Linked DNA regions of Homo sapiens: region 1 is linked to region 2. The links are contacts of gene promoters, found by promoter capture Hi-C in human tissues and cell types (Jung and others, 2019). All regions are on one chromosome and are shown on one strand. Each heading gives the region's core, a stretch centred on a gene start or on the middle of the fragment in contact. The rest is flanking DNA. Distances are from core to core; before and after follow the strand shown. Region 1 has its middle 26 kb from the start of LINC01844. Region 2 holds the start of ARAP3 (ArfGAP with RhoGAP domain, ankyrin repeat and PH domain 3).

Evidence for each region. Contacts are between HindIII fragments. The study calls those that stand out against the background at their distance.
Region 1: a fragment that was not itself captured here is called in contact with the fragment with the promoter of ARAP3 in region 2 in 1 of the 25 tissues and cell types used here (neural progenitor cells).

The regions. Positions count from the first base shown.
Region 1 is chr5:142,717,196-142,722,646 of GRCh38, forward strand. No RefSeq gene overlaps it. Among named protein-coding and RNA genes, the nearest start is that of LINC01844, 26 kb to the right of the region's middle. The HindIII fragment of the contact is 3,753 bases long and covers 732-4,484 here.
Region 2 is chr5:141,680,940-141,686,444 of GRCh38, forward strand. It overlaps ARAP3 (ArfGAP with RhoGAP domain, ankyrin repeat and PH domain 3), which reads right to left and starts at 1,291. Exons shown (of 33, transcript NM_022481.6): 1 at 1,234-1,291. RefSeq lists a silencer at 1,291-1,340. The HindIII fragment of the contact is 12,570 bases long and covers 1-5,505 here.

The DNA.
Region 1 (5,451 bases), core at 1,358-3,857, 1.0 Mb after region 2:
CACCAGATTGGTTGGTGATGGAGCTGGTGACAATTGCTCCAGTGTTCTTACACTAGCCCACAGTTCATGATGCCAGCTTTCTCATCTCAGGAAAGTTCAGGGAACAAATCCAAACATGGTTCAAAGTCATTCTAAGGTCTCTTCTTAGTCACATGGTGTTTCCAAGGCTTTGAAATTGTTTACTTCTAACTCATGTTTTCAAAGTTGTATCCTTCAACAGAGAATTCTGTGAGTATCTGGGTTTGGACTATTCTCCTAAGACACCTTCCCACCCTATAAAATCCCAAAGTCATGAGTACAAATCATTTCTGCCATCCTTGGACACCTTTTGGGCAAAGTATTTGACCCATCTCATGCTGAATGGACCCTTGGCCCCTCCTCTGCAATGGACCAGATCCGGTGAATGGTGAACATCCTGTTTCCCTGGATCTTTTGTCAGGCAGATAAAATTCAATGTTTGGCAAACTTTGTTAAGGCTGAGAGTGAGGTCACTGCAGTTCAGGTTATTTTCTATCTGGGCCACAAGAGGACACCCTCCACTCAGCCATGAGCATCTATAGTCTCCATAAAGCTCCGAAGTGGGTTGAGTGATGTGCTGGATTATGAAGAGGGGACAGTCACCTGCTAGAGAGGGAGGGGATGTCACTTTCCTTCTGTAGAGTGGTGGGATGAAGTGGCTTTGGATCAGACCTCAGCCCTGAACTCTAGAGCTGGGTTGCTCGAAGTGTGGCTCCCCGACCAACCGTATCCCCGTCAACTGGGAAGTTGTTAGAAAAGCACATTCTGGGGTCCTAGCCCAGACCTGCTGAATCCGAAGCTCTGGGGGTGGAGCCCAGCAATCTCTGGTTTAACAAGACCCCTCCCCTCCCAGGTGATTTCCATGTGAGCTCTCGCTCGAGAACTGCTATTCTCTCCTCCAGAGCATCTTCCTGGTTATTCTCTGGGACGCAAAACCATGGTGGTATCTGATCTCATCACACTTCTGCCAGGAGGTGAAATCGAAGAGGCTACATTCTTGATGCTCAGTGTCTTCTTCAGGTCATTTGCCTGAGGACACCTGGGGATACTGAGGTCAGTCATTCTGCATGAACGTGTGCAGTCCCTGGGCTCAGCCCTGGGCCGAAGGCTCTGAGGGATGTAAGGGTCACTAAATAATAATTTGTCAGCCCTCACAGAGCTTCCAGTCCTCCATGAAATGCAGGGTTGCCGCCTGAAAACAGACCAAAGGGGGCACACGACATGGTTCTGACAGCATGGGTAAATACAAGGAAGCTGGGAGCCGTGCAATGCTGCACACGTCCCCTCCCCGGCTTCATCTCCCATTCCCTCCCACCCAGCTGCTGTTGCAGGGCCCCCTGCCTTCTTTTTCACTCTCAACAGCACACCCTCAGTTTGCCCTTGTTTTCATTTCCTTTTCCCCTTACCTCCCATACCTCTTTTCCAATCTCTCCCCCTCCCGTTCTGGTTTTGTTGTAAATCACAAAATTTCAGGAACAGGCCCAGCAAGGACAGAAGCCCCAAGGGGCAGGGGAAAAGGAGAGAAACTGCATAGATAAGAACAGGCTTCTTCTCAGAGTAAAGACTAAGAAGACACAGCCGTACTGTAATAGTAGTTACCCTTGTCCGAAGGGCAGTGCAAGCCTGGAAAAGGGAGACCACCCGTGGGCTAGGGAGTGGGGAAGAAGCTCATTAGGGTGTCTGGACACGAGCTAAACCTTCACAGGGCACGGGGACTTGGGAAAGCAGAGGGGACGGAGAGGCCATGCCAGCCCCATAGCAGGGAGGAGCTGGGGTGGGAGGGGGGCCGGGGGCAGCCTGGTGGGGAGGGAGGATGGATGGGGAGTCATAGGAAGTGAGGCAAGATGGGCTCCCAGATGGAGGAGGGAGCAGTTAAAGTCTGAGTTTTATGATAGATGTACCAAAGAGGTGTGATAGGTTCTGAGCAGAGGAAAACTGTGTATATTGTTATTGTGAAGACATCTTCTCTTCCTGAGGTCACAAACTCAAATGCCTATAGCATGAAGCAGGCCAGGTAAGAAGCTGGAGGGCCTGGAGGGGTCGCGTGAGCTGGAGAGCACGTGTCCACCCTGAAGTGGGCAGTGATACACAAATCCCGACAATTATTACCGGGGGCAAGTAGAAGCTGAGTTGCGAAGTCATCCAGTTTTTCGACAGAAATTGGATGTCTGGATTTCTTTCTCATAATGTAAAATTTCTTCATTTTTAAATAGGCAGCTCATTGAAAATTTAAAAAAATCTGTACACCTTTGGGTGGTAACTTCTGACCTGCATTTTAAAAAATTGGACCTGAGGGTTTGTACCATACTCTTAATCAAAAATATTATGACCATTGTTTCTTCTTAGTTTCCTCCCTCACCCCTTTCTAGTAAATCCATTTATTATGAACAAAAAATATGATAACATCCAAACATGAACAACGTACTGTTTTCAACACTGCACACGAATTATCTCATCCTCATACAACCCTGTAAGATTATCTACTCCCACTCTATAGATGAGAGAACTGAGGTACAGAGAGGGAAAACAACTTGCTCCAAATCTCACTAGTTTTAAGTGGGGGAGCCAAGACCGAAGCCCAGGTGGTCAGACTACAGGGTCGTGAGTTCAGCCTGTGTGTTATATCCTTCCCTATATTCTTTGGTGACCATATTTCAGTTGTGTTTTTCCCTCTTCCAAGTATGAGTGACATTTGTGAGGTTGTATTTTCCTTCTTGTGTTAAAATATTAGGTTCACTGTCTTTATTGCCCGTGCCCTGGTGCCTGAGGCCTGTGAGTCAGCTGTGCTCAGTCTAGCAAGCATCCATGGAGGACCCGCCGTGCGCCATGCATCGTGCTGGTGCCAGCTGTCCCATTTCATGAAACTCCATTTTAATAAAAGATACTGACAGATAGAAACCAAAAATTTCAACCTAATATGGGATGTTATGTTGAGACAAAGGCATCTTTGGTATGCACTGCGATCATATAATGGAGTCATAAATGTGGAGGAGGGGTGGGTCAGGGAAGACTTCCTGGGAGAAACGTCCTGGGGGCTAAGTCTCAAAGAACTCTGAGGAACACCAGGTTCAAGAGGCCAGGCATTAGAAGTCAGAGGGGTGCAGGGAAGGTCAGCAGAGTGGCGATAAGGCAGGAGGAAGGAGCCTGGGATGGTAGGGTTGAGCCTACCTGAGACAGCTGATGGATAGGAGGAAGGGACCAGTCAGAGGGGCTGGGGAATCATGACCTGACATTGTGTGTGTTGATTCAGTGTCTACACGCTCAGTGTCAGGCCATGGGGAAGACCCCACAGAGAGGGTAAGGCTTGTTGTTGAAGTGGATGGATGAGAGGCTCTACCCCTCATTATTTGTGGGGCCTTAGGCAGGCTGCTTTGCCTCTGGGAAGCTGAGTTTCCTCACCTGTGAAATGAACTCAAACTTATTCAGCTTAGTGAGTACTGAATAAGAAGATGCTGGTGCCAAGTCTAGCACAATGCCTGACCCCAGCAATCATTCAGACAATGTTTGCGATTACTATCATTTCTGACACTTAGTAAATGTTTACTGAAGGAGTGAAAGGGAGCAATGGCTTAGGTGACCCCAGCGGCACCCAATGCAGTTGGGAGATCAGATCATCAGCTAAGCTTAAGCCTGGCCCATGATTTCCACTTGTCTTACGAGGACTGGGAAATAAGGGTTACATTAGTTTGAGGGAGACTTCAGCTTTAATATAAATTCCAAGTGACGCCATCCAGTCCACCGGAGAAGCAGCCTGCCTCAACAGGCAAGTCTGACCACAGAGACTGCAGCTGAATCAGCCGTAACTCGGAGCTGAGGCTGATAATTTTCTGAGGCTTGTCTGCACGCCTGTGAATCTTGCGTTCCTGTAGGTTACATCATTCTGTCCAGGTGCAGACAGTCCTGCTGATGGAACACTCCCCGGCAGCTGCAGCAACCTGGCACCTGGCATGGAGGAGTCCATCTGGTGGTGATATGCAGCCACTCAGGACTCATGCCAGCCACGCCGGCTCCTGGATGACAGGCAGATATGGCTGCGGCTGCCTTGCTTACTCCCAAATAGCACAGAGCAGGACAGTCTTCCAGCCAGGTGGGTAGTTCCAGGAGGCCACATTCACCTTGGAGATTCCTACCATACTCAGGAAAAGAAAGAAAAGCTGCGTACAGTTCTTACAATCATGCTTGTCATTTCTGTAGTCCTTTTTGTTTAAGGATCTCAGCTGCTGGGGCACGTGCAAGTTTTCCTTCAGTTTCTGTGCCAGCAATAATGTGCCTTGATTTTCGGGCAGTTATAAGTGGCCAGAGAGAAAGGGGACCTTAAAAGTGTAAGCCTGGCTTATTTTTTCTGGAATGAGCTTTCTGCAGCAGTGGGTCCCAAACTCAGCACTGTGCTGGGCTTTTCTGGAGGAATATGACACACACAGGGCTGCCAATTCTGATTCAGTAGGTGTGTGGCCAGCCCCAAACACCTGCATTATTAACCAGCTCACGGGGTGGTCCCCTGACCGGCTGCCTCCAATCCCCTGAGGTACTTGTTAAAAATGCAGGTCCCTTGGCCATACCCCAGACCCACTATATAGACAGCTCTATCTAGGGTGTGGATGGATGGAGTTTCACTCTTGTCACCCAGGCTGGAGTGCAATGGCATGTTCTCGGCTCACCACAACCTCTGCCTCCCGGGTTCAAGCGATTCTCCTGCCTCAGCCTCCAGAGTAGCTGGGATTTCAGGCGCCTGCCACCATGCCTGGCTAATTTTTTTGTATTTTTAGTAGAAACGGGGTTTCACCACATTGGCCAGGCTGGTCTTGAACTCCTGACCTCATGATCCACCCGCCTCGGCCTCCCAAAATGTTGAGATTACAGGCGTGAGCCACCGCACCTGGCCAATGGCTTCCTTTTTAACAGGTGCATTTTGCCACAGGTCCCTCAGCGGCTCTTGAACACAGTCAAGTTTTAGAGCTGCTGCCGTATGTGATTCTGATGCACCGTATTTGACTACTACTCCAGAACAATTATGCTTGAATTTCTGTCTTGCAGACCCTAGATTTTTTTTCCCTGACTCAACTAGACTGTCCTCAGCAGCTGAGAGAAGTGTTGTTGGCCAACATAACACAAAAGAGGCAAAGAAAGTAGAAAAGTGATGTAATCTGAAGCCATGTGGAGTCTGAGGCCAAGAAATTGGATGGAAAAACACCAGGGATCCTCACCTTGACTATGACCCAGCTTTGAGAGTTGAAACGGAGTGTCTGAAGACACTGCGCAGTTCTTTGGCGAACGGGCTAGTTGGAGTTAGCAACCTTCTGCTTGGAGAAGCTTCTGCCACTGCTTGTAGGTTTGCTTGGCTTTTGTACTTTTTTTTTTTTTTGAGACAGTCTTGCTCTGTCACACAGGCTGGAGTGCAGTGGTGCCATCTCAGCTCACTGCAACCTCTGCCTC
Region 2 (5,505 bases), core at 41-2,540:
GTAGGGAGAGGGGCAGCCTAGATAGGAGGAAGGAGGTGCAGACGCCCCCTCCCTCTTGTTTCCAGAGCCGATGTATGCAGGCCTGCCGTCCTAATCCTGGTTGTTCCCAGTCCCTCCTCCCCTTCCACCTATTGTCTCTGCTCAGACTTCCTTCCTGTCCCTCCAGCCCTGGCCGCCTCCACATCCTGCCTGCTTTGGTCAGGCTGCCGGGAGAGCCCTAACCAGTCCTAATGTGTGGGGTCCCGGCCCTGGGTGGAGGCTAATTGAAGAATAAGGATGGGGATGCCAGAGAGATGAGGCCTGACCTCTGGTCAGGGGTACTCCAGAGGCTTCTGGACTCTCTGCCCACCGGCAGCATGTTCACATGCTGTTCACCTGTGTGTGCACATGCCCTGTAGCGATTTGGCAGTGTGAAATGCCATCCCCCCACCTCTGCTTTCTCCAAGCCTTCCTTTTCTGAGCTTGCCTTTTCCCTGCTCATTCCCTTGGGCTCAGGTCTCTGTGCTCTGTCCCCCTTCCACCAGCCTGACCCCGACCCTGACCCTGGTCTATTTCATAGACCTGTCTCTAATTCTGTGGCCCCTGAGTTTTATCTCTGCCTTGTCACTGTCCCTGCCCCATTCCATCTCAACCTCTCAATTCTTCTTTGTCCCTCTCCTTGTCCCACCCTGTTTTGCTCTCTGTTATTAAGCTTGTCCTTGACTCAGTCTACAATTCTAACCAGATCTTGAGTTGTATCTGTGTCTCTGTCTGCCTCTGAGCCTGGGTTTCTGTCTTCCGCCTCGGCCTAGGCTCTCTCCCTGTTACTCTTGTGCTCTGTCGGTGACCAGGACGCCCTCTCCGTCCCAGCATCACTGCTGGCCTCCCTCTGCCTCTCTCCAGCTGGGCCTCATTCCCAAGCCAGGGCCCGCGTGCTGAGCCTCGGGCCCTGACTCAGGGCCCGGTTTCCCGGTGACTCAGGCCGGGCTCGACAGCACGGGGCTGGGAGCTGAGGTGCTCGCGGGACAGGAGTGGCGGGGGCGGGGCGGGCAGTGGCGGGCAGCGCAGGCTGCGACGAGGGAGGGGGCGAGGAGGGATGGGGCAGAGGCCGGGCAGCAGGAGGGAGGGGCGGGTCGTGGCAGGGATGGGGAGGGCCGCCGGCGCCGAGGGGGCCTGGGAGCCCACGAAGGCCCTCGAGAAGGTGATGGGGAGGAGTCTGGGAAGCAGGGACCCGGGGGGCGCGGGGGTCCTCACCTCACTACGCGGCCGCCGTCCGCTCGCGGGTGCCCGCCGCTCGTCCGAGGTTCTGGGTCCCGCCGCGCCGGCCCCGCCTCCCCTCTGCCCTCCCTCGACGGGCCCAGCCCCGCCCCGCCCGGCCGGTTCCCTCCGCGGGGCCCCGGCCACTCCTTGTGCAAGCGCAGGCCTCCAAAGGGTTTGGGCTTCTTGCCCAACCGCCGCGCTTATCTCCGAGTCTGCCCCCAGTCTGCCCTCTCGCAGGCCGAGAAAGGACCAGAACACGTTGGGACGAAGACAACCTCAGGGAGAGGGACAAAGAGGCAGAGACCGGGACGGAGACTGGGACGGAGGTAGAAACTGAGAAAGGGAGAGTGCCAGGGACGGCTTTGCATCCTCTCCGCTGCTCCCATGCCCTCCAGTCCTGCCAAAAGGGAGGAGGAAAGGTCGAGCCCTAATCCCCCAGGGCACCTCTCCCACGCCCGGAAGGGTGGCTGGACCCTGGCAACCAGTTTAGTGTGGGGACGGAAGCTGGACATCCAGAATTGAGACTTGGCCTGGGCAACAAGCGCAGAGGCCCAGCAGAGGGGTACCCGTCTGTTTCTCCCCACTTCCATCCCCAAGGGCCCGGCCTAGGTTCCTTCGAGGGATGAAGGTCCGCAAGGCACATCCCTACTTCCAAACCAAGGTTTGGGGCTGCCTTTTTGGGACAGGCGGACGCCCTGCAAGCTCAGTGACCAAGCAAGCAGCTGTTTCATTCATGGGAGAAGCCGCCCCTTCTCCCCAACTCCCACCCTAAAATTTCAGGGGGGATGCCGGGGAGGCCTGAAGAGGAATGGCCCTTCTCTCCTTCGCTAATCTTGCCGGAACCCCGGTCCTGGAGCCTGTCTCCCAGGGGCGGAGGCACTTCCCTCTCTGAGCAGGACCAGTGTTTGGGTGTGGGGGGGGGGTGTTTGTGTGTGTGTGTGTGTGTGTGTGTGTGTGTGTGTGTGTGTGTGTGTGTGTGTATGTGTTGGGGGTGGCGGGGGCGCTGGCCGGCTGTGTTTTCCTGTTTGTATGAGAGGAAGTTGGCTGTGAGTCAGCAGACACAGGAACTGTCAGTAGCTAGGGGAAGACCCCTGCCTCAGGGGAAGAAGAGGGGAGTGGGAGGAAGTGGTTCCCACCTCTTCCAGCTGCCTCAGCTAGGGGAGGGACTGTCATCTTCAACCTACTGGAGCCCCACTTTCCCGGCCTTCCCTTTGAGAAAGAGAATTATAGTAATAAAATAATAATTGCAATAGCCATAATAAGGGCTACCAATTATTGAGAGCTGACCGTGCTCCAGGATCTATGTAAACATTGCTTTGCAAACTTTAATCCTCACAAATATCCCTACAAATAGGAAATTTTATCACCTCTATTTTACATATAAGGAGACAGGGAGCATTAAATAACTTGCTCAAGACTCTGCAGCTAGAAAATAGCCAACCCTCCAAGTCTATATCTATAACTACCATGCTCACCTACCACCCTGGACAGGACCCCTGCACCATGTCCTTTTTTTCAGATGGGCAACTGTGGTGGCAGTGAGAATGCTCCTCACAGATCTTACACTGTGAGGAGTGAAATTAACCAATGGCCCCAGCTGCTTCTCTCTGAAATCTAAGGCCAGCTTCCCACTGGGCTGCTCCCAGCCAGTGACAGAGCTCAGCAGAGATCTAAGGCAGACCCATTCCTGGGAGATAGGGGACTCCTTTGACAGCTGACTTTGGATCAAGATTTCCCAATGGCTTTGCTGAACTTTCCTTTGACTGGTGTTTTAGGATGCTCCTCTCAACCTTTATTCCTTCCCTCTCTCCTTCACAGCTCTCCTAGCTCCAGGCTCCCTTCCTCTCTCACAGGCATCTCCCCTAGTCAAATCCTTGCATTCTGCCTTGGCAGCTTCTTCTTTAAGGACTCAGACTAACCCAGCAAAATAAGGGAGCAGGAAAAGACAGTAAAGGGCACAGGGAGTTTTGAGGAATGGATGCCGGGGAGTTTGGGTCAGGGGCTAGATGCAAGAGTTCTGAACCTTTTTGTGCCATGTTCTCCTTTGGCAATACGGTAAAGTATGTGGTCTCATCTCAGAATAATATTTTAAAATGCATAAAATAAAATATATAGGATTGCAAAGGAAACCAATTATGTTGTAATACACATATAAAACCGATGTGATATAGTAATATATGTGCTTCTTTATTAATGCTTTAAATAAGATCTAGTGGTAGGTTGATACCTCACATAACTTTGATGCAGTGATGAGCATAAATGGTATTTCAAAAGATCTGCAATATTGTAATATGATATAAAAATATATGTGATTTCTACTGGTGACAAAGCCATAGTTATGGCTAAAATGACTGGTTTGTTGCTATTGTCATAATTGGAGGAAATGTTAAATTTCAGCTAGAGATTAGTGAAAGTAATATTCTTTTCCCATCCAAGTCCACTGACTCCAAGTTAAGGACACCAATGCCAGATGATGGGGCAGAGCCACAGAGAGGGAGACCTGGCTTCCTCCCTCAGACCCCACTTCCCTTCTTTGGCTCAATGATATGGGGCAGGTGGAGGCTTCTGGCCCCTGGCTTGTGTCTTCCTGAGTTCAAGCAATTCTCGTGCCTCAGCCTTGTGCCTCAGCCTCCCGAGTAGCTGGGATTACAGGTGCCTGCCACTACACCCAGCTAATTTTTGTATTTTAGTAGAGACAGGGTTTCACCATGTTGGCCAGGCTGGTCTCAAACTCCTGTCAGGTGATCCATCCACCTCAGCCTCCCAAAGTGCTGGGATTACAGGCGTGAGCCACCATGCCCGGCCGAAATTAGTAAATCTTAAATCTTAATCTTAACACATAGGACAAAAGGGACACTAGTGAGCAGAGGAAGAGGAAGAATGAAGCAATGAGGAGATGTGGAAGGGAATTCTTCAATAGCCCCTTCCATGTCTCGATTTGTTCCCCACTCAAATGATAGACTATTAAGCCACAATCACTTTGGAGGCCACTTTGTTCACCAAAAGTGGATGGTATGCAGTAATTAAGAACAAGGTCTCTCGGCTAGGCACTGTGGCTCACACCTGTAATCCCAGCATTTTGGGAGGCCAAGGCAGGAGGATTGTTTGAGAGCAGGAGTTTGAGGCCAGCCTGGGCAACATAGCAAGACCTCGTCTCTACTAAAAATTTTAAAATTAGCCAAGTGTGGTAGTGTGCACCTGTAGTCCCAGCTACTCAGGAGGTGGAGGTGGGAGGATTGCTTGAGCCAGGAGGTGGAGATTGCAGTGAGCCGAGATCGTACCACTGCACTCCAGCTTGGGTGACAGTGAGGCCTGTCTCTAAAAACAAAACAAAACACCACCACCAACAACAACAAAAACTAAAACAAAAGGTCAACAAAAAAACAGTCTCTAAAATAAAGCCCTGATGCCACCTCTACCAGCTGTGACCTGAGCAGATTATTCATCTCTATTTTGCCCTGTGTGCCTCAGTTTCCTTTTCTGAAAAAAGGAGAGAGAATAGTGCCTGACAGGGTTGTAAAGATTAATCTATGGAAATATATGGGTAATATGTGGAAAGGACCTGACATTCAATGAGTGCTCAAAGTGTTTCCTGTTCCTTGTTCCTATTTTTGCCAGTTACTTCCATGATAACTCTGGTATGCACCCAGCTTGCCTGTTTCTTCATCACTCTGGCATATCCCGTTACCTATTTTAATCAATCAGCCTGTGGCATCCTATTGCCAAATTAGACCACATTGTACCCCTTGTATTTTCCCCAGGGTCCCCAGTTGTCATCTTGTCTGTTCCATCACTTTTGTAACTCAATTTCCTGTCACCCCTGCAACTCCTGATCGCCTCCATGGTCTCCAGTGGCCTCCAGGTCACACTCCTTTCCTGCCCTTACCCTCTGGATGGTAAAAGGCACAGCCATCACCCACATTTGGTCCTGATGAGATGGGACAGGGCCTAGGGGGATGCCAAGGTGCAAGTTTCTTTTTATTTATTTATTTTTTTGAGACAGAGTCTCCCTCTGTCGCCCAGGTTGGAGTGGAGTGGTGCGATCTCGTATGACTGTAGACTCCGCCTCCCAGATTCAAGCGATTCTCCTGCCTCAGCCTCCCTAGTAGCTGGGATTACAGGCGCCCACCACCACATCCGGCTAATTTTTGTGGTTTTTTTTAGTAGAGACGCAGTTTCACCATGTTGGCGGGGCTGGTCTTGAACTCCTGACCTCAGGTGATCCGCCTGCCTTGGCCTCCCAAAGTGCTGGGATTACAGGCGTGA